Linked DNA regions of Homo sapiens: region 2 is linked to region 1. Evidence: promoter capture Hi-C in human tissues and cell types (Jung and others, 2019). All regions are on one chromosome and are shown on one strand. Each heading gives the region's core, a stretch centred on a gene start or on the middle of the fragment in contact. The rest is flanking DNA. Distances are from core to core; before and after follow the strand shown.

Region 1 (5,947 bases), core at 1,542-4,041:
AGCAGCTAGAAACACAGCCTGCTGCACACATCTCACCCAGGAAAGAGCCAGCCAAACGAGGGGATGTGGCAAATCTTACTCAGTGTGGACAACAAGGTCATTTGGTCTTTCAAATAAAATGTCCTCTGATTTCAATAAAACTGAAACTTACAGCCACCCTCAAAAAAAAAAAAAGGAAGCCACAAATGTGGTGTGATATGACTGATGTTTCTTTTCTTTTGTTTTCTTTTCTTTGAGATAGAGTCTCACTCTGTCGCCCGGACTGGAGTGCAGTGGCGTGATTTCGGCTCACTGCAACCTCCACCTCCCAGGCTCAAGCGATTCTCCTGCCTCAGCCTCCCGAGTAGCTGGGATTACAAGCATGCGCCGCTACCGCCCAGCTAACTTTTTTTTGTATTTTTAATAGAGACGGGGTTTGACCATGTTGGCCAGGCTGGTCTTGAACTCCTGACCTCAAATGATCCCCCCGCCTCAGCCTCCCAAAGTGCTGGGATGACAGGTGTGAGCCAACGCGACCGGCCACGATTGATGTTTCAAAGCCTCCGTCTGCCCAGAAACCTCTTCTTTCTCTGCTTTGGCATGGTTCTTCCAACTCCAAGTTCAAATTCCTACACACAGAACTGGCAAAGGTAAGGCACTGTCTGCAGGAAGCCACTCAAAGAGTGTGTATCTTTCTTGGAGATAAAAGAAGTAAAGAGATTTCCTCCAGCTTCCTCCTCTCCCAGGTTTGCTAATTGGCACCCTGAACTCATAGATTAGCAGGAAATGGTAACATGTATCTTAAGAGATCATCTGGTGTAGTCCTCTGCCTAAAGGGGGAACATGTTATTATGCCCATTTCATAGATGAGGCCACTGAGTTGCTTTGCTAAAACGACACAGCTCTTTGGTGGGAAAGAACGAGAGCCTAGGTTTCCTGCCTCTTGACACAGGGTTCTTGCCACCTGATCAGTGTCCTGGTAGGAGGACATAGAGACCTGTCCCTAAACACCGAAACTGAAAATAAGGGGTCCTGTGACACGGCAGGGCTTGGACCACCTCAGTAAAAGTCAAGAGAAAAGAGTTGCAGAAAAAAAGGCAAAAATATGTCCTATTTCACCTTTCCCAAGGCCAGTCCTGACAAACACGGCACATCAAGGCTGCCTCTTCATTCCTTGGAACACGACATTCCTTCTAAGTCTCTGAAGGCCTTTCCTGAGGCTGAAATGGCCCCTCAAGAGGGAAGCATGGGATTCCTGGAATTTATGTCTGGAAATATTAGAGGGCCTGGGGAACAGGAAAACCCACTCCTGCCACACAAAAAGGTCAACAGAGAAAGACCAGACTAGATCCTGGCTGTGGCTGAGCAAGTCGGGGGAGGTGGGGATCTGTGCGGATCTGTGCCAGGGGCTAGCAGGGAGGGCAGGGCCTTCCCAGATCCTCTGGAATTCTAAGCCAACCGGACAATCGAGTTAGCGTAAGGGATGGTTTTGGAAGAGGCCGGTGATGGGAGCCGATGATGGGAGCCTGCCGGAGGTTCCACAAGAGCCTAGAGGAAGCCTAGAGACGCTGGCACAATTCAGTCCTCACCGAAATCATTTCCTCTTTCTACAGTTCTTGTACCCCCATCTTGACAGATCAGTTCGCACAAGAATGCGACCCTTTCGCTGCCCTTTTTTAGGAAATGGTTTTCATGAGACCAGCTTTGCCAATGACACGGGCGGGTACACCAGATGCTAATGGCTGCTGAAAACGCCCTTAGAACCGGCTCTTCTTTTAGAAGAAGGAATTCTGGAATGCGGAGTGGGCCCCCGAAAGGAAGCGACCCTACGTTTATCTGAATTCCCAGGGGCGGTTCGCCAGCGGCTCCCTGCGTCCTCGCCGGGTCCCCTGTCTGCAGTCCCCGGGCCGCACGGATTGACTGCTTTTTTGTTTCTGGCTGCTTTAAGGCTTCTTCGGGCGGAGAAAACCCCACTTTAGGGGAGTGATGGTGGGGAGGACTTTCCCAGGCAGCTTCTTTCACCCGCAGCAGGGAAGTTTGCAGGGCGCGCTCCGCACAGGTCACTGCCTCACCTTCCACCCCGGCCGCGCCCTCGGCTTTCACCCCCTTGGCTGGGTTCGCTTTTGGTTTTATTTTTCTGTTTTACGTGAGTAAATCAATTGCCCCCAGGAGGCAAAAGAGCACTCAGCGACTTGGCTGAGCAACTTAAACTTTCTGCCGGAAGGAAACTATCAAAAGCGGAGGAGAAAGCCCTCGGGGCCCCAGACTCGCCGCCACTGCCCCGTCCCCGCTGGGGGTCCCCGCGAGGTCGCCGCGGATCCGGGGACTCGCGGGCCGGGAGGAAAGAGCGGAGTAAGCCCGGGGCAGGCTCGGACCCGGACCCCGGCAGGGTGAGAGCGGGGGCGGACCAGAGGGGCGCACGGACGGCGGGGAGGCGGAGAACAGGCGGGGTGCGGAGAGCGAGGGGCGCGGAGAGCGAGGGGCGCACGGACTAGGGGAGCCAGGGGGACCCGGGGAACCAGGGGGCGCGCGGACGAGGGGGACGGGGGCTACGAGAGGGGTGCGGAGAGCGAGGGGATCACGGGGACTGAGCGCGCAGGGAATAGGGGAGCGAAGGGGCGCGAGAGCGCGGGCCGGGGTCCGCCGGCGGGTGGCGGCCAGGACTCACCCCGAGAAGGCACACTTTGAGCTCCCGTATCGCCATCATGTGCTCGCAGCCAGGCAGTGCCGGGGCTCAGCAGCATCCTCCGGGGCCGCCGCGCCCGCGCCCCGCCGGCGTCTCTCGCCTCTGCCCCTCGCTCGCGCCGCCCGCGGGCGGAACCGCCGCCGCTGCTATTTCTGGGCCGCCGGCCCCGCCGCGGTGGGTCACGTGGCCGCCGGCCGGCTCCTCCCGGGCGCGTCGGGTCCAGCCTCGCCGGCCCCCAGCTCCCAGGAACGCCCCCGGACGGCGTCAGCCACCCGGGACCTGCGGCGTCGCCGGCGGATTGCCTCCGCCCTCGGACCAGCCCCGCGCGGGTCGGCCTCCCCCAGCGCCCTCCGGCATCCGCCCCTCCCGGCCCCGCCTGGCCGCAGGGCCCGGGTGGGTAGGAAGGACTGGACCGGCCCTGTGGAGACCTGGCCCCACTACCAGCGGGTCCCTGAAGATGCCATTCTCATCTGGAAAGCGAATGCTCTCGGCCGAGGCCGTTTGCGTGGCAGCGCGTGGAGGTCTGCGGGGGTCCCATCCTCAAGCGACATTCTGGGTCCCACGCAGAAAAAGTCAGGCCACTGAAGGGGCCGCTGTGAGGACAGGGGTGAGGAGAAGGGGGCTAACTTTTCGGCCTGCCTTTCTCGACGTTCCTAATACCCGAGCTTCCGTTTAACATATGTGTGGCTCTTCAGCTCAGCCAAGTTCATTTTTCTGTATGCAGCTGAAAATGATTCTAGAAGCAAAACTCGCTGTCCGTGTCTGAAACGGGAAACTTGCTTTCTGGAGCAAAAGTCTTTTTCTCAGTAGAGCAAATCCTGCAACTCGTGTGGGCAGAAACCCAGTCCTCAGAGGTACAGGTAGAAACGTGGAGATCCCAGCAGACCCCTGCATCGTTCCTAACTGGGAAATGAGCAGAGTCTGTGGCCGCACACAGTCGGGGAGGCTTGGGTAACTGTGTTCTCTTCTCCATGTATGGCCTAGAGCACCTCATCCACTCGGATGACTTCATTCGTTGCTGCTACAGAAATGTCAGCCTTTTCAATGTAATCTATCTGAACAATTCACTGGCATTTCAGATGGGAAATGTTTTTTTAAAAACTGATTTTTTGAAACTTCATCTCCTATCCCAAACTCTCAGGCCTCTCTCTTAACCTTCCAATTTTAATCAATGGCATTTCCATTCTCCTAGCAGACCACCCACCGTGATCATCTGGCTTTGTTCTTACGGAAGCCAGGTTGAAGCTACCCAGTACCCAAGTAGCCCCATCCAATGGGAAATTCCAAATCAAGGCCTCCAAAGAGATAAGTCCTGGAATACAGGAGTCAAAATGGGCCCCGAAACAGACAATTCACAATTAAATTCCCCAGAAGAGCAGGAAGTTTGCCCTCGAGGTGCAGGCTTGTAGAGATTACTCAAATGGACTAAACTGTACAAAAGGCAGCCATGGACAAGTTACAGGTCCATTGTATCAGTATCCGTCCTTGACTCTGTATCCAAAGCAGAGTCTTCTATGTGGGCAGGGTAAAAAGAGGCTTCCCCAGAATCAAACAGTCCTGATCACAATATCTCCCTGCCCTCAGATTTGCTAATCAGAAAACCACCCCTACACAGTTGCAAAGACACCTCCCCCAAGGCCTTCGCCAGCCCTGAGGGCACCTCCACAGTGAAACATGTCCTTTTGGCTTTCCAGCTTGATTCCCAAAAGCCAGTCAAACCAGGGTGGAAGCCTCCACTGTGTTCTACATCCCGTGCAGTGAGTGGAGCTTTGTGAAGTTGCCTTAGATTGCTAAGGGCAGAACTGTGCCCAGACAGAAATAGGCAAACCGAATTTCTCTTGTGTTCCCTTACTCTTTTTCATGACTGCTCTCATTCTGCTCTCTTCTCCACTAGCCCGGGTGTCTGGGACGCTTGCGTCGTTTCTAGGCTCTCCCAAAAGAGTCTCGTATCCAGCCCTTCCCTCCCTGAGAATCGCCCCAGTCTATTTGTCCTTCTCCCCTCCCCTAGTTCTGTTAAAAATGACCTCATTTGTGTCTCATTCTGATCAGGTCTTGGGCTCTTCTTTACAAAGTGGCAATCCTAGTCTGTCAACTGACTCGTGTTCATGGGTTTATACCCTCTTCCCAGCCAGGTCACCCCTGAGCTTAAACATGGCCTCATGAAAACCAGGTCCCCATGATCACCCTAAGGTAACCTACAAAGCTCTAGCCCTGGAAGGCAGGAAGATGACTGCTGGGAGACATATTTTAAGAGTGACACGTCAGAGGCAGCTCTCGACTTTTTAAAAAAGTGCCATGTTCTCTATTGTTACACTCTATGATTACTGTACTAAGGGCCCATCCTGACTTCTCTGGAATTTTCTGCAAATATGTAGTTCTGGTGTAACTTCAGCAGGGGTAAAAATTCAATGGTACATAACTGACAATTTATCAAATTAAGAAATAGAACATGCAAGTTTTTCTTATAAGAATTTTGTAACGTAAATGGTCATTGTGCTAATTCAGACCTCAACTTCTCTGCTGCTATAAAGTCTCCAACAGAAAAAGCCAGTAATGGTCATAAAACTGATCATGTTTTTTGATTCAGGAAATCCTTTTTTGAACAATAACATACAAAGACGAAAAGTAAACAAAGCTGCCTGTTTGAATATAAACACATATGCAGACAAAAAAAACAAATAAATGGGTTAGAGAAACAACAACAAAAAAATTACATCCATGGAGGTAAAGGGAGGATTGTTGCGTTAATTGTAACTCAAACCTCTTAACACTTGAGGAATGATTAAGCAAGCTAGGGTGTCGTTACTGGGTATATTTGATGGTGTACAATAGTATATGTTACTTAGATATTAAATGAAATGTGTATACTATGTAGATTTATAGAGACGTTTATAGTAAATAAGGTTCTGTGAAAATAATATGACTCAAAATGTTAAATAGGATAAGCAATATAAATGTGTCACAACGCCCTGGAGTGCAGGCTGATCCCTGGAGACCAGTACTGAGTCATCTGGTCTGCTCAAGGGCCAATTAAGGAAAGATAAAAATGTTTACAAACCTTGTTTTTCATAATTTATCTTTTTTATGGAACTATAGTGTCTGCAATATCAGTTAAACAGCCTTTTAGTATTTCTCATTTATGTAACAACTCCTTCCTTCCTTCTTTCCTTCCTTCTTTCCTTCTCTTTCTGAAACTTTCTAAATAGCATGTGCTACCTAACCTTATTTGTAACCCACGCCCTTTAAACAAATTTTGAGGAGATGAATCCTGGACATACCAGG
Region 2 (6,224 bases), core at 3,488-5,987, 1.0 Mb after region 1:
CATCCACCTCTTTCATCCCCACCTCTGTGAAGTCCACTCACACCTGTGAGACCCTCCTTTTTGCCCACGGTGTGCACGCATGTCTGCAAAGGACTAAACACTCTTCTGATGACTTTTGCTTGAATGTGACGTAGATCGTTCTCTCCATCTGCTTGTGTGTTATTTTAGAAGCAGAAGTGCTCAGGGAATAGAGTGAGACCAGTAGACTTCCTGGCTGACCAGGACCTTTGAAGGATGTGTGGGAATCTGCCACTCAAGGGAACATGAGAAATAAAGGTGTGGACATAGGAGATGGGATGGTAACATATTTGAGGAGTAGTGAGGACCCCAGTGTGACCAGAGCCTAGAGTGCAGGGCATGAAGTTTGAGATGAACACACTTTCAGAGATGGTCGGGGGACTTGCAGAGATGGGGGAGTTTCTGACCCGCCACATAAATGGAATCTCACAGTGTATGGTATTTTTTCACTGGCTTCTTTCACTTGGCATAAGTGAAACCACTGGAACCACTTCAAGGTTCATCCATGATGTAGTGTTATAGCTGTGTAAAGTAATATTTCTTTTTTTTCTTTTTTTTTTTTTTGAGACAGAGTCTCACTCTGTCACCCAGGCTGGAGTGCAGTGGTGCAACCTCGGCTCACTGCAACCTCCACCTCCCAAGTTCAAGTGATTCTTCTTCCTCAGCCTCCCGAGTAGCTGGGATTACAGGCATGCACCACCATGCCCAGCTGATTTTTGTATTTTTAGTAGAGACGGGGTTTCACCATGTTGGCCAGGCTGGTCTCAAACTCCTGACCTCAGGTGATCCACCTGCCTCAGCCTCCCAAAGTGCTGGGATTACAGGCGTGAGCCATGGCACCCAGCCAAGTAATATTTCATTGTATGTATAGACCACGTTTTGCTTCTCCGTTTATCTGTTGATGGACATTTGCATTGTTTCTGGGTTTGGCTTTTATGAATAATGCTGCTCTGAACATCCAAGTACAAGTGTGTATGTGATATATGTCTTTGTTTCTATCGAATATATATCCAAGAGAGTAGAAGTGGCTGAGTCATATGGTGAGTCATATGCTGGGTCTTATGGTAATATGTTTAACTTTTTGAAGTGGGGGAGAATAGGATCTGGAGGCAGGAAACCTAAGGCTGATTCACCCTGACTTCCTAGAACTAAATCAAAAGAAAAATCCCAGCTTTCCATGCCCAAGTACCAAAAGGACCAGAGGCTACTCTCTTTGCAAACCCCCACCTTTTCTGCAAGGCAGATGGAAAATTGGAAGTACCTCTAATTGGTTGCTTTCTGCAACCAGACGTTTGCATAGGAAGGTAGCTTTGTAACTTCAGCCTCTGACTGTAGGCCAAGTCTTCATTTGCATAGGAGTGCATCTTTGTAACTTCACTTTAGCTTCTGATTGGTTGCTTTCCGCAACTAATCAGACTGATTGCAGGCCACCACTTCATTTACATGGGGTGAACACCAAGTGGCCAATGGGAAACCTCTAGAGGGTATTTGGACCCAAGAAGATTCTCTATCCGGGGCCCTTGAGCTGCTGCTTGGGCCGCTCCCACGCTATGGAGTATACTTTCATTTTCAGTAAATCTCTGCTTTCGTTGCTTCATTCTTTCCTTGCTTTGCTGTGCATTTTGTCCAATTCTTTGTTCGAAATGCCTAGAAACTGGACAACCTGCAGTCAAGACCCTCCACCAGTAACAGAAGAACTACCGATTTTTTTTCCCAAAGTGGCTGCACCCTTCAATATTCCCACCATCAGTGTAAGAGAGTTCCAATTTCACCACATCCTCACCAACACTTGGTAGTATGTATGTTTCTGATAATAGCCATCCTCTTGGGTATTAAGAAGGCTTTCATTCTGGTTTTGGTTTGCATTTCCCTAATGACTAGCGATGTTGAGCATCTTTCCATGTGCTTTGGCCATTGGTATACCTGCTTTGGATAAATGTCTATTCAAATTATTTGCCCATTTTTAAAATTAGGTTGTGTTTTCATTATTGAATTGTAAGAATTCTTTATATATTCTGGATATAAGTCCTTGTCAGAGACATGATTTGCAAAGATTTTGATACAGACAACATTTTTTGTGCATTGTTTTCCCACTTTCTTGATAGTTTGTAGCACAAAAGTTTTTAATTTTTAATTTTTTATAGAGACAGTGTCTTGCTATGTTGCCCAGGCTGGTTTCGAACTCCTGACGAAAGTTTATCATTTTGATGAAGTCTACTATATCTGTTTTTTCCTTTTGTTGTTTTGTGCAATTGATGCCATATTTAAGAAGACATTACCCAAAGTCATGAAGATTTACTCCTGAGTTTTATTCTAAGAGTTTTAGTTGGACCTATTTTGACCTACTTTATGTGTATTATGTGAGGTTGGGGAACTGACTTTATTCCAGATATCCTATCTTTACCAAAGGCTTGAGTGTCTATTACTGAATGAAAATTGTTTTAGATTTTTGACAAGTGTGCTTGAATTTCAGAGCAGGGACTTGGGCTCAGTATCTTTGAGGTAGGTAGCAAATGATTCCTTTTCACAGTAAAAACAAATAAAAACCTGATCTCTTTATTTGTTGAACAGTTTCTTCTTTTCTGTCTTTAGTTCTCTCTCTTTGTCAAAATACTGAACTTTCCAAATCCTTATCTTTTCTTTAGTTTCCTTTCTTTTTCACTTGCCATTATATTGTAATATTGCAAGCACATTCCTATATTAGAACACACACACACACACACACACACACACACACACACACACACACACACGGCCCCATTTCTCCCACTTCTTCATCTATCCTGTGCTTTCGTTACCGTTCTCTAGGTCAGCCCAGGGTTCTGGTCAGCAAATGAGCCTGATGCCATCACTCTCTCATTCACCCCACATCTCTTTGGGGCAAACCAGAACCCTCACCAGACTGACCTCCAGTTTAGGCTCTGCTGTGTACTGAACATGTAGATCTGAGGAAGCAGCATCCACGTCAGGCACCATGCATAAAAGGGAGGGTTGGATGGGATCGATCACAGATATTGGAAGGATATGATCCCTCTTCCGATCACTCACAGTGGGTCTTTGCTCACCTCAGGTGTGTATTGACCTTACAACAAATTGCACAATGGGTCCCTCCCAACCCGAGGCTACCTTCCTTTCTCTTGGGTGAAAAATTGCAGTTAGAATGAAGTGCAGATCCCTCTCCAAGGCCTGCGAGTCATGTGAGCCACTCACCTCCCTTGGCCACTGTCCTCTGCTTGCTGGGTGCATCTGGCCGGTTTCTGCTCCTGAGCCCTGCTGGGGGCCTGTCCCCAGGTCTGCTTGAGGCTGTCCTCCCCCTAATGTCTTGGCGGGCAGGCCTCAGCCTCGGGAGCGTTCTCTGAGCACCTAGGGAAGTCACAGCCCTCACCTCAGCTTCTTCACTCTTGATCCTGTGGCAACATGTGCATCCCCTCAGGCCCTGCTGCTCCCTTGCACCTCCTGTCTGTGTCCCCTGCGGGTCAGCAGGTCAGCCTGGAGGACCGGGACCCTGCCTACCTCACTGGCAGTGCATCTCCCCATTCCAAGCTGGGACTGGCACTCGGAAGGAGCTCAGATAATGCCTCTTAACTAGGCGTTTTCCTAGGTACCCATGCAGCCTCTCTTTTCCTTTCCTTTGGCTTCCGCCTGTCCTACAGGGATCACTAAGGGAGCAGTCAAGGTTGGGGAGCATGGGTGGAGGGGGAGGCGGATGGCCCTTCAGATCAGTTCCATAGCGCAGCTCGCAGATGACAGGGGACAGATGGGAGCTCACCGCGGGCTTGCCAGGCCAGACAGCGAGTGAGGACGCCAGGGACAAGTTAGCAAGGCCAGTTGCAGCCTGGGTCCCGCACCTGCTCTCAAGGGCATTGAGTGCCCTCTTCTGCTGAGCTGAACCCACCTGCATGTAGGGGCGAGTTGGGGGGTGGCCGGTGCCAAGGGTGTCAGGAGTCAGTTACTGGCCATGAGGCCTGCACAAATCACTTCCGCTGCCTGCATCTGGGATTGCCCCTTTCTCAAATCAGCATGAACAGTGCCCATCTCCTAGGTTATTATGGTCAGGGTGAAGTCATTTTAGACACGGAAGTCCTGAGAATAACACCTACAACTAAAGGCGTGAGTTAGCTGTTATTATCACATGAAGGTGTGAGTTAGCCGTTATCACATGAAGGTGTGAGTTCGCCGATATTACATAAAGGTGTGAATTAGCTGTTATTCCATGAGGAGAAGAGAAAACGAGTAACACAGAAGTGATGCAGGCAGCCCCTCTCCCCAGGCACCCGCCCCAGGGCCTCTGCACTTTGCATACAGCTGGCGCCCAGCCCCTCTCAGAAGTCACCGAGCTGACAGCACAATGGGGCAAAGAAAGGAGCGGCTGTGAACAAACACTGAGCTGACGACCACGGCCTGGGGTTCCTATTGTCCAGGCACATTCTCCTCACGCCTCCCCACTTCAATTTTTTATTTTAATTAACATGACTAAACTGGGCACCCAAGGTCTTTGTCCTCATCTCAGCCAGCCTAACCTGCAGGCTCTTCGGGAACATGGTTGGGAGAAGCGATGTTCTCCCAATTAGAAATACAGGGTTTTGCACAAAGTGACAATCCAAGGACCATTTTCATTTTCATCATTTTCAAATCAAAAGCATTTTCCAGCCTCCTTCTGAAGGAAAGCAATGGGCACGCGGGACCCTTAAACAGACTCCTTACAGAGGCAGATGCCTGTCAGGTGGACCAGGTAGGACCGGGCACCCTCATTCAGCAGCAGGATTGGATTAGCTTTCTGTCCTCTGGCGAGGTCACCCGAAGCCCAGCTGCGAATGCAAATTTGCAGTGAGAAAGGGTGCGGTTTCCAATCTCCACCAGTCAGCAGGAGAGCCAGTTACCTAGGTGACAGACTGTGCTGTTTTCCTGGTTAAATTCACAGGAAGGAGAGGAAGGGGAAAATATTTAAACGAGCCTGAGCCTTGAGCTAACCCTCCTCCCTGGTGAAGCCTGATCTCCAGCCATCGCTGAGAATTGTGGACCACATTTTAACCTGTTCTCTCACTTCCTAATCCTTCTTCCAGTCAATGCCATCGACTGCAAGTTTGATTGTTCCTGGTGTATTTTTCAATTTATATCAACAGGCAAAAAAAGCAAAAGGCAGCAGGGCAATTTGTGTTTTCACAAGTGAGTTTTATTTGCTTCCTTTGTAGCAATTAATGCTAAATTCTCAGGTTACAATACGAAAAAGAAGCTTGTATGAGAGAGTAATGACTGCTCTTTCTCTGTCTCAGATTATAAAGAAGTAGCAATACTTGAATAACTGTAAGGCTGTGGTTTAAATGTATCTATGTATCCATTTATGTACCTACACAGACATTACGGCTATTATATACAATTTTCTTCCTTCCTTCCCTTCCTTCTTCCCTCCCTCCCTCCCTTTTTCTCTTCCTTCCTTCCTCTCTCCTGCTCTTTTTCTTGGCAGACACATTCAGACTGAAATGTCCCCTGTCCTCAAGCACTTCACAATCTAGTTGGGAGACAGACCAAGAAGTAGCTATGTCTCAAATGCCAAGCAGTCTTCGCCAGCCCACTGAGTCAGGAAAATCACATTAAGATAGACAACCCACAGTTTCCATTCTCACCCCCTCCTCCTCCACAGGACCTCACTCCCAAGTCCCCTCCCCTCCGGGGCGGCTGATCAATAAGGCAGGCTGGACAAATCGAGGGACAAATAAATAAATGAACAAAAATTATATAGGGTCCAATCAGGTATGCCTTGATATAGGTATGAATATATTCCTGAAAATTGGTTCAATTCATTTAGATCATCTATTTTAAAACATAGGAAGAGAGCTTACTATTTAAAGTAACTTAATAGTGAATCATTTTGTAAAGCACGGAAATTACTTTCATTTTGTAATGATCATGATTAACTTTATTTGGCATGGATTATCACATATGGATTTTTCGTTTTCTTTTTGTTAGAGACAGGGTCTTACTGTGTCAACCCAGACTGAGTGCAATAGTGTGATCACAGCTCACTGTAGCCTTGAACTCCTGGGCTCAAGCGATCCTCCTGCCTCAGCCTCCTGAGTAGTGGGGACTATAGGCCTGTGTCACCAAGCCTGACTAAATTGTTTTATTTTTTGTAGAGACAGGGTCTCACTATTTTGCCCAGGCTTGGACTTTTTGTATACACGTCTCATAATATTCTAGAGACTCTA

Evidence for each region. The method cuts DNA at HindIII sites, captures the fragments that hold promoters and counts their contacts. A contact is called where the count stands out against the background at its distance.
Region 2: a fragment that was not itself captured here is called in contact with the fragment with the promoter of RAB31 in region 1 in 1 of the 25 tissues and cell types used here (lymphoblastoid cells).

Annotation. Positions count from the first base shown.
Region 1 is chr18:9,705,145-9,711,091 of GRCh38, reverse strand. It overlaps RAB31 (RAB31, member RAS oncogene family), which reads right to left and starts at 2,791. Exons shown (of 7, transcript NM_006868.4): 1 at 2,648-2,791. The coding sequence starts at 2,686. It overlaps LOC124904244 (a long non-coding RNA gene), which reads left to right and starts at 3,120. Exons shown (of 2, transcript XR_007066281.1): 1 at 3,120-5,947. LOC105371981 (a long non-coding RNA gene) reads right to left here and starts at 2,420. Exons shown (of 2, transcript XR_935131.2): 1 at 1,099-2,420. RefSeq lists silencers at 2,197-2,426, 2,527-3,096. The HindIII fragment of the contact is 12,091 bases long and covers 1-5,947 here.
Region 2 is chr18:8,660,601-8,666,824 of GRCh38, reverse strand. No RefSeq gene overlaps it. Among named protein-coding and RNA genes, the nearest start is that of RAB12-AS1, 27 kb to the right of the region's middle. RefSeq lists an enhancer at 3,974-4,558. The HindIII fragment of the contact is 5,249 bases long and covers 2,113-6,224 here.